4 separate regions of the Homo sapiens genome follow, and all the other regions are linked to region 1. The links are contacts of gene promoters, found by promoter capture Hi-C in blood cells and fetal thymus (Javierre and others, 2016). All regions are on one chromosome and are shown on one strand. The core of a region is centred on a gene start or on the middle of the fragment in contact, and the rest is flanking DNA. Distances in the headings are between cores, read along the strand shown.

Region 1 (3,381 bases), core at 261-2,760:
ACAAGGCGTTTTGTTTTTACTTCTCAAAAGCGGCAGAGATTTTTTTTTTGAGACGGAGTTTTTTGCTTTTTGTGGCCCAGGCTGGAGTGCAATGGCGCGATCTCGGCCCACTGCAACCTCTGCCTCCCGGGTTCAAGCGATTCTCCTGTCTCAGCCTCCCGAGTCGCTGGGATTACAGGTGCAAGCCACCACGCCCGGCTAATTTTTTTTTGTATTTTAGTAGAGACAGGGTTCCACTGTGTTGCCCAGGCTGGTCTCGAACTCCTGAGCTCAGGCAATCCACCCGCCTCGGCCTCCCAAAGTGCTAGGATTGCAGGCGTGAGCCACCGCGCCCGGCCAGAGATTCTTTTTTTTTTTTTTTTTTTTTTTTGAGACGGAGTCTCGCTCTGTCGCCCAGGCTGGAGTGCAGTGGCGGGATCTCGCCGGCCAGAGATTCTTTATAGGACATATTAGTCCTTGTCTTTCCCCCCCCGCCTCCATATTGGAAAGATGAACTAATTGAAATATGACTTAGTAAAAACATTGTGCCAACTTGAAACCTTGATTTAGTAAAACATCTCAATGTTTAGATCCTTTGTCCAATGGTAGTATTTATCAGATGTATTCAGCTTGCTCAGAAAACCAAAAGGGCATTACAACCACAAAAGCAAAGAAAAATAAGAAAACGTCCCATGTTTGGATCTTGTTCTACTTGTAAAGATTAAATTGAAATGATTAGGCTTTTCGATTCATGAGCCAAATACCGTAACACCCTGGCCTTTGATGGGTTTGGATTTTTAACATTACTCCTGAGATTTCAGGAAGTGGGGTTACAGTTACACTCCTTATAGCTGCTAAGTGTATTAAGTTGAATGTAAGGATGCATAATATTGTTTGAATTGAGCCCCACTACCAATTCTTTAAAAAATGGCATGAATTCCTATACGTAAATGATTTGGTGGAACTATTCCATCATAATTTCTAAATTGTTTATATACCAAGGTAGCCTTAATTTGTATATGTTTCAGTACAATGAAATTTTACTCCCTCTGGGATGCTGTTTGGTTTGTATTTTGAGGAATGTTTTTCTCATGGGAAGAGGAACCTATGACTTCTGTACCTAGATAATTTGTTACATTAAAAAGCTGGTCTTTCAGCAATGTAAGTATATACATACATGTTTTTATGAGGAAAAAAAAGCAGCAGAGATCAGAAGACTGCCACCGTGCTTGGAGAAGAAAGAAAGCCGCGCGTGGCCTTCGCAGTGCTCGCCGGGACTCGTAGTTCCAGGTCTGCGGGCTCCTCCCAGGCGGGGATCTACTTCCTCTCTCGGCCGCGGCCGCAGCACCCGGAAGCTGAGGGGGCTTAAAGTCTTTCGCTTCCTTTCCCCGCCTCTTAGTCCCGCAGATTGCTAGTGGATATGGCCAATAGGAGGGCTGACTGGTACTTCCTGTTATTTGATTGGCTTAAAATTTTGCAACCGCCCGGACAAACTTGCCGAGGATTGGCTGAGCCTTCAGTTTTGAAAATCATAGTTTTCGCCCGCGCTGCGCCGCCTGGTTGCTCCTCCCGTGCGGTGAGTCCCGAAGGCCCGGAGCCAAGTGGGTCTGGGCAAGCGGGGCCTTACCTAGGGATACCACCGGACTTGGATCGGAGCAGCCTTCAGGGGACGTGGCGCAGTCGAGTGAGTGCGCGTGGGCGTGGGGATTGGGGGGTGGTTCGCGATTTTTTCCCCGGTCCTCTGCTCCGTCCCTGTCGACTCCGGACCAGGGTCGTGACTCCCCACCCCAGCCCCTGGCTACCTGGGCATATGAGGGTCACCTCTTCCAAGTGGCGAGGTCGCCTGCCTTGGTTCTCGGGCCCGAGATGCCTCCCACCCTTTCCACCTAGGCCCTCAGCTTCCTAGAGCATAGCCCCGTTCCCTCCGCTCCCGGCTGCTTGGCACCTTGTGCCTGTGAGGATTAGTGTTGACTTGGACGCGCAGGAAGCCCGAAACCAACCCGGTTGTTTGGCGGAATGATGCCAGATGGCATTTCTGTGCAGTTAAACCCCTCTCTCAACGCCCCCGCCCCCAGCTGAGCAGCATTTTAAACTGACCATTTCCGGAGGCTGGGCCGCCCCTTGTCACTCCCCAAGCCTGTTCGCTGTCAGCGGTTCAGTCTCATTCAGCTAACATGGGTTGCTCGCGGGGTTGCCCAGAGCCAAGACTGGGCACCTGCCTTTCAGAAGTTGATATCTAGAAGGCGGTATAGCCAGTGGTTAAGGGCACGGTTTAAAGGCGGTATAGCCCGTGGTTAAGGGCACGGTTCTATTTATGCCCCTGATTTACCGGCTGATTTTGACTTCTCTTTGCCTCAATTTCCTCATCTGCCCATGCGTATCCTCAAGGTTGTGGTGAGAATTAAATGAGATGATGTCTGACTCGGGCATGGAGTATGACTCAGTAAATGGGAGCAGCTGCTATGCGCTTTCTGCACAGAGGTGTGGTAGGCGCCCAACTTACAGCACCCTGAAAAGGACAGGAGTCATAGAGGAGGACGATGGGGCCTTCAGTCTGGTGTATGGTGTGGAAGAAGTGTTGGAGAGGAGGAAGACTGGAGAGTGTCTTCCTCGGTGAGGTGTTGAGTGCTCTTTATCTGTGTGCAGGTGCTTACATGGGTTGAAGAAGAGATTTTTGCTGCTCTTCCAGGAGCCTGATTCTTGGTACACTGATTCCTTCTTTTTCAGGGTCACCTCTGTTTTAACTTACGGTAACCCTTTTTAAATCGTTGCGCTAAGGTCTGCTAGAAGCAAACCTCCCCGTGAAAGAAGTCCAATTGCTTTCATGGACTTTGTGAAAGAAGCTCTCATCCACGTTGCCCATTTGAACAAATACTTTTTAAAAAGTTAGCCAGTTGTTGCTTTTCTCTGCAAACCTTTGGCTTCCTTAAACAGTTTTCTCTTTTCTGGCCTGAGGTCCTGCGCTTTGCCAGGGCTGTGGTCTGGGTGCAGAAGGGTTAGGGGAAGGTGAGGGATGACAGTGAAAAGGGCTTGCCCATGATTGGCTGGCTGCAGAGCCGAGGTTTCAGCCCAAAGCCTGTACGATCCTGCCCATTTGGCCCTGCCCTGATTATTGCTGCCCTTGGCATCTGGGAACAGGGGTTTTGAACATGTGTTGGTCAGTTCTAACCTGTGCAGATTAAGTTTATTTGGTGCCCTTTGTGTGGTGGGATGAGCACCTATAGGATGTTTATTTCTAGGTGTAGAGTTGATGGGTGGATTAATTCATTTAACAAATAGTCCTTGTTGCCAGGCACTGCTGTGCTCTGGGCATTCAACGATGAGCAAGACAGACAGGGGTTTGCCCTCAGAGAGCAATTGTTTAGTGGGCAGGGACAGGCAGTAAGCAACAGGTAAACAAGC
Region 2 (3,608 bases), core at 187-2,686, 180 kb after region 1:
TGGGCAGACAAGAGCATGGGCTGCAGCACAAAAATAAAAATATTGTTGATGTTAGGAAAGTCGATTTTTCTCTCATGGCTCCCTGAGGTTACACCAGACAGGATCCCCTGGGTTCTATGTTTCTATACCATTATTGTGCTGATGACAATACCAGAAACTCCAGGTGTGACTTTCTCCGGGTCACACAACAAAGGGAAGAGCTTCATATCCTCAGCTAGACTTCTTTTTCTTTTTTTTGAGATAGGTTCACCCAGACTGGAATGCAGTGGCACAATCTCGGCTCACTGCAGCCTGAATGTCTTGGGCTCAAGCGATCCTCCCTCAGCCCCCAAAGTAGCTGAGACTACCAGTGCCTGCCACCATGCCCGCTTTTGTGTGTGTGTGTGTGTGTGTGTGTGTGTGTGTGTGTTTTGTTTTGTTTTTTTTTTTTGTAGAGATGGGGTTTCGCCATGTTGCCCAGGCTGGTGCTGAACTCCTGAGCTCAAGTGATCTGCCCACTGTGGCCTCCCAAAGTGCTAAGATTACAGGAATGAGACACCATGCCTGGCCCACAGCTTGACTCTTGACAACCATAACCTTACTTCATTCTCATAGCCACTCCTGGCAGAAGCTTTAACCACCAGTGATAAGAGGAGGCTCAAGGAGGGTGAGCATTGTGCCCAAGATCAAGGGGTGGGAAGTGTCGAAGCCCAGGTTCACCCCAGACCTCACATTACATCATCTGACACAGATCCCATTCAGAAGTGAAGCTCAGGCAGAAGAATTCCTAACATTTGCCTGAACTGATTTTTCTATAAAACTTCTTAGATACTGGGGATTAGAAGAAATAGCTCTAAGCAGCCAGGCGCAGTAGCTCATGCCTGTTATCCCAGCACTTTAGGAGGCCGAGGCGGGCAGATCATCTGAGGTCGGGAGTTCGAGACCAGCCTGACCAACATGGAGAAACCCCATCTCTACTAAAAATACAAAATTAGCCAGCTGTGGTGGCCCATGCCTGTAATCCCAGCTGCTCAGGAAGGCTGAGGCAGGAGAATCACTTGAACCCCGGAGGCAGAGGTTGCAGTGAGCCAAGATCATGCCACTGCACTCCAGCCTGGGCAACAAGAGCAAAACTTCTCAAAAAAAAAAAAAAAAAAAGGAAGAAGAAAGAAGAAATAGCTCTAACCTTTATGAATCTTATTCAACAAGCACAGAAAAGGGTTTGGAATTTTGTTTGGTTTTGTGCAGACCCCAACCCAAAGCACAAATAGGTGATCTTGTGCTCAGAAGAGGGTGCATCCCAGGGGCTGGTGCTGGACTCATGACTGATGTACTCACCCTGGTAGCAGCAAAGGGCCAGCGAGACCATCAGGAGACACACTGACAGCCTCATGGTGGCTTATTCGGCTGTGAGCTCAGCTTTCACAATGAGTGATTTGGATTCGACTCCAGGAGCCTGTGTAGTCATGGAGGCCAGGGCTATTTGTACCTAGGGAGCCTGGCTGGTCCTACCTACCGGGGCACCTGGTAGGTCATGAGGCCTGGCTCCCAGCCCGCCCTTCCAAGCCAGGGCTGCTGCCGTCCATCAATGTCACCTCCTTAGGAATCTCTGCATCTGAGTGGGGCGGAGCACAAGACAGCAGCCTTGTGAGAACTCTGCTCTGTGCTCCAGGTGAGTGTTCAGGTACATCTGGAAATGTTCCTGGGATCCTCAATTTCCTTATGAGCTTTTGCTGATTAGTTCTTTTTATCTTTGTAGCAGTGCAGGGGCACAGGTGAATTATGGCTTCACAAGGCACAGGAAGCTGGAAGGCTGTGTTCTCTTTATGGGAGAGCAGGGACATAAGGAGACCCTGCTTTGATCCCCCTGCATGTCTGACAACAAGCAGGCTTGTTTCAGTTGCACATTGGGAAAGTCTAATCCTTCCCCTCAGCCCCTTCCATCACCACCATGTTCACTGCATAGGTACTGAAAACATAGTTGAATACATCCCACCTGTAGAAGATATGCTGAGGAAAAACATCTGCTGCACCTGTTCTCTAGCCTGCCTCACTCCCAAACCTGAATCTTGTTTATACGTGCAGTTATATATATGGCCAAGATTCACATTTTCTATCTATAAAAAGCAAGCTTTCTGTGATGTGTAGCCACCCACGTCTTATCTTAGGGCTGATCTGAAGATTAAATAACCTAACTCTTTTTCTCAAGAGCTTTTGGAGTGTTCAGAGCCAATCATACATCAGTGGGGCTCTAGGCTGGGAAGATAATAGAAGGGAAGAGACAGAGGAACAGGGTGGGTGGTCACTTCCCCCTAACCCCTAGGCTCAAGTTTTCCACTTCAAACCTATCTGTGCTGCCTGGGCCAATCCCATTTTTAAGGGAAAGTGAAGGAAGCCCCCAGACAAAGCAATACACACCCGCCTTCCCTCCCATTGCCGTGCCTTCATGTGGTGTGAGTTTAATCACCAGAAATTTTTCTCTTAAATAAACTTACATTTGAGAGGAGTCACAGCCCAGGCCATAGCTTTCCATTCTCAGCTATGTAGTCAAATCACTTGGAGCTTTTAAAACATACTGACCCCACAGGCTTCTCTCTCTGGCGATTTTGATTCAGTAGCATTGGGGTGAATCCCTCCTTTCTGTACTGTTTAAACTGCTCTGGTGTTTCTCACAGACAGCAGGGCTGAGATCCAGCCAGGAAAACCTTTAAGAAGGAAGGGGACCTTACGGGTTTTGTCATCAAAGACACATTGACAGATTTAGTTGAGTCCAAGCTGAGGGCAACAGTGGATCTCACTTTCATCACACAGGATGACGACGGAGTCCCTGAATCAGCCCTGCTGCCACCAAGGAGGGGGAGGGTTGGTGGTGAGGTTTACAGCTATGAGGGTTCAGATCCTCATTTATGGGCTCCTGGACCTTAGGAAAATTATTCAGTTTATGTAACCCCAGTTTTCTCATTTGTCAAAGTAGGCTACTAATGGTGCCTACATCATTGGGTTGATAGATGATCAAATGAGTGTGTTCATGGGTGTGTGTGTGTTTAAAATATACCAAGTTCTGGTACATAGTAGTTCTCAATGTAAACTGCCATTATCTTGTCCCATTTGTCATATATGTCATGGTTTGCCAGTAGTTCCTAGTTTAGAGCACAGCCAAAATCCACTAAATCACCTACTTGCAGAACTACACGGACACCTAGATACACCATTTCTCTTTGACATAAATGGAAAAGGAAACCCAGCTCATGGTCTTGGAGGCTGCAAACCCATGAATATGGGCTTCAGGACTGAGGCCTCTTTTGCAGTAGACAGGTCTGTGAAGCATCCACCCTTTTTGTGGATGAGAGTTTATCCTCACTCAGGCTTGACATTCACCTTGTCATCTGTACAGTCCATTGGGGAGCATGTGTATCTCTGACAGAGGATTGTTTGCGTATACTTTTATTAGTCCTACCACGATTAACACCTATGCAGGGTTTTTTTGTTTTCATCATTGATGCTTTTTATGGCTCCCTCCTTTTTACACAATTGACTCAAGATTTTAGTTTATTCTTTCCATCCATGGACATCGTTGCCTGACCCCGATGACTTGTTCAATACTCCCCTTCATAGACTCTGCTGGAACC
Region 3 (3,578 bases), core at 323-2,822, 220 kb before region 1:
TGCACACTGCGGTGATCTGTGGGCAGAGGTGGGGACGGTGTGACCTGCCAGCCCCACGCTGGGGGTCCCCTGACAGGCGGATCTGAGTCCAGAGCAGGAGGCCCCAGGTCCCTGCAGAGCCAGGCAGTGCTCCCTGACTCAGCTGGGACTGGGCTTTCAAGTAGTAATCAACAACAGCATGACTAGCCCTGCTGTAATAGCAGCAGCAGCAGCAGCAGCCATTTCATCAAGCGCCTGCAGCGAACGGAGCAGACGCGCTTATTATTCCATCTTACATGGGGGAAAGCGGAGCCACCCGGGGAAAGCCGCTGACATCCATCACGGAGATGGCGGAGCTAATGAACCAGCATGCAGCAGAGCTGTGAGATGAACCGGGCAGGCTGTCCCGGAGTCTACACTCGCCCTCTCACAGGCCGGCTTGCTCCAGATGCTGGAGTTTTGGGCCAGCCAGGCCTCAGTCCAGTGCTACTGATAACACTGGGAAAGGAAAGGGGGTCAGAAGCCGCTCACCTGGGCTGCCCGGGGCCCCTGGGGCCTCAGGCCTGCTCCATGCCAGGCCCCGGGGACCCTGTGTTGGCTCAGACACTGCTATGAGGACTCACACCACGGAGAGGGTACTGTTGGTGCCTGGCCCAGGGCCCCTTCCCAGGCCCGGGCCCCATCTCCCAGCTGCTGAGAGTGGGGGCACTAATGGCTCAGAGGTGCCCCCCTCTGTACTCACTCCTCCTGTAGACCTCAGCCGATGACTGACTTGTGTGGAGATAGAAAGGACAGTCCCCTTGCCTCAGGGTGGAATCAACTCTGCTAAGAGCCCGGTGGATGGGGCTGAAGCTGGGCTGTAGCTAAGGCCACATCCTGGCTGGACTCCCCCGTCCCTTCCCTCATTCTCCTGGGAGCTGCACACAATCTCCAGGTGAGGCTCTGCCTCTTCGGAACCCAGCCTAAGACAGGGTGGAAGGTAGCCGGCGGCTGTGCCCGCCCGCAACAGCCCCTACTGAATGTCCAACACTCCTGGGGAGGGACATCAAGTGAGAGGGGCACCCGCAGGCTGGGGAGTGGAGAAGCTTCGGGGAGGGGCGGGACGGTGGTGGCCTGGCAAAGATAGGGAGGTGCGAGAGAGCGGGGCGAGGTCGGGGGACCAGCCCGTCGTGGCAGGGACACCGCTGCACAGGGAGGGTTGAGGAGAGGCTGCGGCAGGAGGGTGGGGCAGGGCAGAGCTCAGGACAGGAGCAGGGACAGTGGATGCCCACAGAGGCTCATGAGCAGGGAGTAGCAGGGAGGGGGCTTTCCCTCTCCAGGGAGTGTGCTAGGGAGAAAACACTTCTCCCTGTGGACCCCACATGTCTTGGTCTTTCAGGGCAGGGACCACATCCTAAAACTTCAGACCCTCCTCACCTCATCTCCCACCCCCAGCTTCATCCAGTGCAGCAGGACACCCAGGCCAGGGACTTAAAGTGCTAGAGGTGACATTGTTGAGCACGGGAACATCTTTTGTGGGGCCTGCTGTTGAGCCATGGTTGGGCCTGGAAAGCGGTGATGGAGATAAGTGGCCACTGAACAAGGCTCAGTGGGCACAAATCCACAGGGTAGGGGCTGCAGTGGACTCAGAGCCAGGATCCCAGGTCTCGGTGTGTGGCCCTGAACACACCCCTTTCCTCTGCCAAGGCTCAGCCTCCCTTTTGGTAAATGGGTGCTCAGCACACCGCTGGGAGGACTCACGCTCGGATGCCTTGTGGAGTTCATCAAGGACAGTATAGTCTGCTGCCAGCAAAGGGACCATTTGTCCCCTTTAGACCTGCTCCCCTGCGAGGAGCCTCTAGCAGGCCTGAGATGGTTCCTCAAGCTGTGTCACTGGAAACGTGTTTCCAAACATGTTCTCTTGTTCCCCTCAATCCTCTTAAGAGTCAACAGAGGGACAGAGGAAGAGGAATCCCTGTCCTCAATCCCCAGCTTGGTGAGAACCCCTGTCCTGGTCTGGGTCACTCGGCAGGGGAGGGTGGGAGCTGGGATTCCTAGAGGCCCCTTGGCACTCACGGCCGACTTAAGGCTGGTGCACCAGACGCACCGCTGAACCTTTTCCAAAGCTTCGGCCAGCACCTGAGTCTGGGCGTCAGGAGCCCCGCACTCTAACTGGAACTCTAGCATCACTCCTGGATTAGGTGACATTGAATGACAGAGGGGGGCGATGTCATCCCATGACATTTCATACATAAGGCTGCATCTCAGCCGACTGGAGAGTGGCCCTCCTGATGGCTCTGAAGTCAGCTGCCCTGTGCAACAAGGCCCTGTGGCAGGGGACTGCGGGTGTCCTCTAGAAGCTGAGGGTGTCCCCTTGCCAGCAGCCAGCAAGAAAATAGGGGCCTCAGTCCTTCAAACACAAGGAACTGAATGCTGCCAACAATGTGAGTTTTGAGGAGGACCCTGACTTCCAGAAAGGAACACAGTCTGCTGACAGCTTACTGCGACCTTGCAAGTCCCTGAGCAGAGAATCCAGTAAGTAAGTAGTGCTTAGACTCCAACATGGGGAACTGCGCTATTTTAAGCTACCAGGTTGATAGTAATTTGTTACACCGTAATAGCAAACCACTGCCCTTGGCTTGGCTGTGTGGCCCGAGTCAGTCTCTGCGCCTCTCTGAGCCTGTACCCTGCTCTGTAAATCAAGATGTAAGGCTGGGCGTGGTGGCTCACACCTATAATCCCAGCACTTTGGGAGGCCGAGGCAGGCAGATCACTTAAGGCCAGGAGTTCGAGTTCAGCCTGGCCAACGTGGTGAAACCCCATCTCTACTAAAAATACAAAATTAGCTGGGCGTGGTGGCACATGCCTGTAATCCCAGCTACTTGGGAAGCTGAGGCAGGAGAATTGCTAATGTCTGCCTGGGAGGCAGACATTGCAGTGAACTGAGATTGTGCCACTGCACTCCAGCCTGGGTGACAAAGACTCTGTCTCAAAAAATAAATAAATAAAATAAGTAAATCAAGGTGTAGTGCTATTCATACTCCCAGGCCCAGGGCCCAGTGTCCCAGCACCCAGGTGGCCCCAAAGGAGTCAAGTAACGCTTGCAAAGGCTGACTCACCCTGGCCCGGGAAGATGGCGAGATGTAGTAATGGCTTTTGGAGTCCCCGAGCCGGATTCGGTGGCGGCAGGTGCGGGTCAGCCCGCTCAGGGCACATGTGCTAGGGGAAAGCAAAATGGGTCACGGGGGCTGGCTGGGGCTTGCCCCTCTCCCTCACCCCTGCATACAGGGAAGATGCAGCAGCTGAGAGGATGCATGGGGAGGGGCAGGCCTCCCTTCCCCCACCCGGCTTCCAAAGGAACCCAGAGCCAGGCAGAGAAGGGAGCTGGCCCCAGCCATCCCTGGGACAGACCTCGAACTAAGCTGAGCTGTACCCCTAGAACCCTTGTTTTGCCCCTACTGGGCAAGAGAGCTTGGTTAATCTCATGCCAGGTGTACAAAGTCCCACCCTCTGCAGGCTCTGCATATGCCTCTCCCTCTACTTCTGGGGACTCAGACCAGGCACTCCTCCCCCAACTAGGCCAGAGTTGAGGTCTGGCTGCCTCCCGCTTCCCAACATCC
Region 4 (3,483 bases), core at 943-3,442, 200 kb after region 1:
GGCAGAATTGCCTGGAGCAGTGATGAGAAAATCCGAAACCAAAAAGGGTATATAGGATGACTCCTCCGGGATACTTGGACATGCTCCCGGAGGCTCTGCAGTTAACCTGCCTATAGGAGGGGAGGAGCCTAGGATTCTGTTGCTGACACTCCAGCTTCTGTTGCATCCCCTCCCCACTTTTCCGAAAGGCACAGCAACTCCTTGGGTCATCGTACATTGGCAGGAGGAAGCTGGGTTTGCCATCAGAAAAAGAGGATGACCTCGGTTAACAAAAGTAAAACATTTGGGAGGCCAAGGCGGGTGGATCACCTGAAGTCAGGAGTTCGAGACCAGCCTGACCAACATGGTGAAACCCCATCGCTACTAAAAATACAAAATCAGCTGGACATGGTGGCACATGCCAGTAATCCCAGCTACTTGGGAAGCTGAGGTGGGAGAATTGCTTGAACCCGGGAGGCAGAGGTTGCAGTTAAGCCGAGATCGCACCATTGCACTCCAGCCTGGGCAACAAGAGCAAAATTCCATCTCACAAAGAAACACAAACAAAAACAAAAATAAAACAACAGGAATGCCAACAAGGAAAGGCAGCTCTGGGTCAGCAAGCACACCCTTCTTTGTCCAAAGGGCAGAACACAACACGAGCAGCAGAGAAGGAGCCCAGGATAACCTGGAGGAAGACATCAGCTGGTGGCTGGAAAGGCTGCTCCAGGGTGTGTCAGGCAAATTAAATGAACTCAGCCAAGACTATTTTATAAAATAATAATCATGTCCAATATATTATTCTATTCTACATCTCATAAAGTACTTTCACATACATTATTTCTTCTCATTAATCAATTGAAAGGAACATATTCTAGAGTGGCTCCTGGAAGAGAATGGTCTAGATTTATTTGAGCATAGGGAGGATAACAATGTTAGTCCAGCTCAGAAGAAGCAAGTGAGGCTGCCAGGGTCACCCCAGGCAGACACTCGGCACAGGAATTTCAGCACGGGCCCTTGACCCTAAGATGCACAGGAATGGAACACTCAGGCTTCATTTTAAGCTTTCCCTGCTTGTGAAGGTTAATTTCAGGTGTCAGCTTGACTGGATTAAGGGATACCCAGATAGCTGGTAAACCACTATCTGTGGGTGTGTCTGTGAGGGTGTATTCAGAAGAGGTTGGCATTTGAATCACTGGGAAGATCCACCCTCACCCAGTGTGGGCCCAATCAGCTGAGGGCCCACGTAGAACAGAAAGGCAGACAAAGGGTGAATTTGCTCTTGCTGTCTCTCTGCTGGAGCTGGGACACCCTTCTTCTCCTGCCCTAGGCAATAGGAACTTCAGGTTCTCTGGCCTTTGGACTCTGGAACATACATCAGCTGCCTCCCAGTTTCTCAGGCCTTCAGCCTCAGACTTCCATTTCACAATATCAACTTGTCTGGTTCTCAGGCCTTTGGGCTTGGACTGAGACACGCTTCAGGCTTCCCTGGTTCTCCAGCTTGCAGCTGGCCTGCCATGGGACTTCTCAGCCTCCATCCTCACATAAGCCAATTCCCCTAACAAATCCCCCTATATATTTATACAAACATATAGTTATATATAATCTCCTATTGGTTCTGTCTCTCTAGAGAACCCCAACTAATACACTGCTCTACACAGCTCTACAGTAATGGAGGTCTAAATGATAATCTAAGTAAAATGTTTGCTAACTACCTGCCATCTCTAATTAGCTACACCATTAGCTAGATCAAATAGCTAATCAACTAGCTAGACCAACATGCAAAGGAGAGAATCCTCCTCTCATTACACATACTTCTGGAAAGGCTAATAAGTGTAGAAGAAAGAAAAGTGTCAATCGCCTAACTCAGGATCAACAAACTTTCTGCAATGGGCCAGGAAGAAAATATGTGAGGCTTTGTAGGCCACCATCGTCTGTTCCAGCTACTCAACCCTGCCACTCTAGGGTGAAAGCAGCCAGAGACAATATGTAACAAACAAATGAGTGTCAACTAATGAGAAATAAGGGCTGGACATGGTGGCTCATGCCTGTAATCCCAACAATTTGGGAGGCTGAGGCTGGTGGATCATGAGGTCAGGAGATCGAGACCATCCTGGCCAACATGGTGAAACCCTGTCTCTACTAAAATACAAAAAATTAGCTGGGCATGGTGGTGCACGCCTGTAGTCCCAGCTACTCAAGAGGCTAAGGCAGGGAAATCACTTGAACCCAGGAGGCAGAGATTGCAGTGAGCCTAGATCATGCCACTGCACTCCAGCCTGAGGACAAAGCGAGACTCCGTCTCCCCCGACCAAAAAAAAAAAAAAAACCCTGCAGGGCAGCAAACAAGAGAGGAATTGCAATGCGGGAGACACAAATCTAGCAAGCAGCTAAATCATGTTCCCTCCAAGTGAGGTTGAGCAGGAGTTTTAGAGGTTTACTGTAAATTTACACAAGTGGGACAACTTAGCATGGTCTATGATTAATGGTGATTGATTGACAGCTTAGAATGTCTCTAGCTGATGATCAGCTTATGTTGGCACAGCTCTCTCCCCAGGAGATTTGTGATCAGGCCCAATATAAATAGGTTAAACTAAATGTACCTGCTTCTTCAGGATGTTTACAGTTTGGCCCAGTTCCACAGGTGACATTCTGTCTGGGTGTGTATAGGCCTGGGTCCAACTCTTCCTACCCACCCACCAACTTTTTAGATGCCTCTGACATAGCCATTTCCATCCTGGATTTCCTTTCATATAAATATGTTTGTTTCCCAAGAAGACTTTATTTCTGAACCCTGAAATTTGATTTCACATAATTTCCATGTGTCAGAAAGTACTGTTCTTCTTTTGATTTTTTTAACCATTTAAAAATATAAAATCCAGGGCCGGGCGCGGTGGCTCACGCCTGTAATCCCAGCACTTTGGGAGGCCGAGGCGGGTGGATCACAAGGTCAGGAGTTCGAGACCAGCCTGGCCAACCTGGTGAAACCCTGTCTTTACTAAAAATACAAAAAATATCTGGGCGTGGTGGCGGGCGCCTGTAATCCCAGCTACTCGGGAGGCTGAGGCAGGAGAATCACTTGAACCCAGGAGGCGAAGGTTGCAGTGAGCCGAGATCACGCCATTGCACTCCAGCCTGAGCGACAAGAGTGAAACTCCGTCAAAAAAACAAAAAACAAAACAAACAAACAAAAACGTGCAGAGGGCAGAGCAGAGGATGCATGCACGTGGAAAATGAGAATAACTCTCTTACCTACCTTCAGCAGTGCTCTAACAATTGCAGCAGATTATACCCCAGAGGTCGCAGGAGGAAAAGACTTAACCCTGAAGGCAGGCCAGCCGCTGGGAGAGCCAAGAAGAGGCAAAGCTTTACGTGCCCTCTAGCCCGCTGCCCACTTCCAGAGCCAGGTAAGTCAGTTCTCCTTCTGAGAAGGTGAGGACTGCCTCCTATGGCTAGATGAAGAGTGATTTCTATAAACAGCCCTGGCTCCGGGCAATGTGGGTA

The links. The method cuts DNA at HindIII sites, captures the fragments that hold promoters and counts their contacts. A CHiCAGO score of 5 or more calls a contact.
Region 2: the fragment with the promoter of SCGB1D4 here is called in contact with the fragment with the promoter of INCENP in region 1 in 5 of 17 cell types (M2 macrophages, M1 macrophages, megakaryocytes and 2 more); the score reaches 9.1 in M2 macrophages.
Region 3: a contact is called between a fragment that was not itself captured here and the fragment with the promoter of INCENP in region 1, in 1 of 17 cell types (neutrophils). The highest score is 6.5, in neutrophils.
Region 4: a contact is called between a fragment that was not itself captured here and the fragment with the promoter of INCENP in region 1, in 1 of 17 cell types (M2 macrophages). The highest score is 6.0, in M2 macrophages.

Annotation. Positions count from the first base shown.
Region 1 is chr11:62,122,501-62,125,881 of GRCh38, forward strand. It overlaps INCENP (inner centromere protein), which reads left to right and starts at 1,511. Exons shown (of 19, transcript NM_001040694.2): 1 at 1,511-1,663. It overlaps LOC124902681 (a long non-coding RNA gene), which reads right to left and starts at 1,211. Exons shown (of 2, transcript XR_007062697.1): 1 at 1,157-1,211. RefSeq lists enhancers at 1,122-1,211, 1,742-1,811, 1,801-2,382. The HindIII fragment of the contact is 13,511 bases long and covers 1-3,381 here.
Region 2 is chr11:62,297,639-62,301,246 of GRCh38, forward strand. It overlaps SCGB1D4 (secretoglobin family 1D member 4), which reads right to left and starts at 1,437. Exons shown (of 3, transcript NM_206998.2): 1 at 1,318-1,437; 2 at 1-20. The coding sequence starts at 1,372. The HindIII fragment of the contact is 1,500 bases long and covers 609-2,108 here.
Region 3 is chr11:61,899,365-61,902,942 of GRCh38, forward strand. RAB3IL1 (RAB3A interacting protein like 1) reads right to left here. Exons shown (of 10, transcript NM_013401.4): 8 at 3,078-3,177; 9 at 1-16. Among named protein-coding and RNA genes, the nearest start is that of FADS3, 9.6 kb to the left of the region's middle. RefSeq lists enhancers at 55-104, 72-1,043, 155-224. The HindIII fragment of the contact is 1,020 bases long and covers 1,063-2,082 here.
Region 4 is chr11:62,321,368-62,324,850 of GRCh38, forward strand. No RefSeq gene overlaps it. Among named protein-coding and RNA genes, the nearest start is that of ASRGL1, 14 kb to the right of the region's middle. The HindIII fragment of the contact is 2,302 bases long and covers 1,042-3,343 here.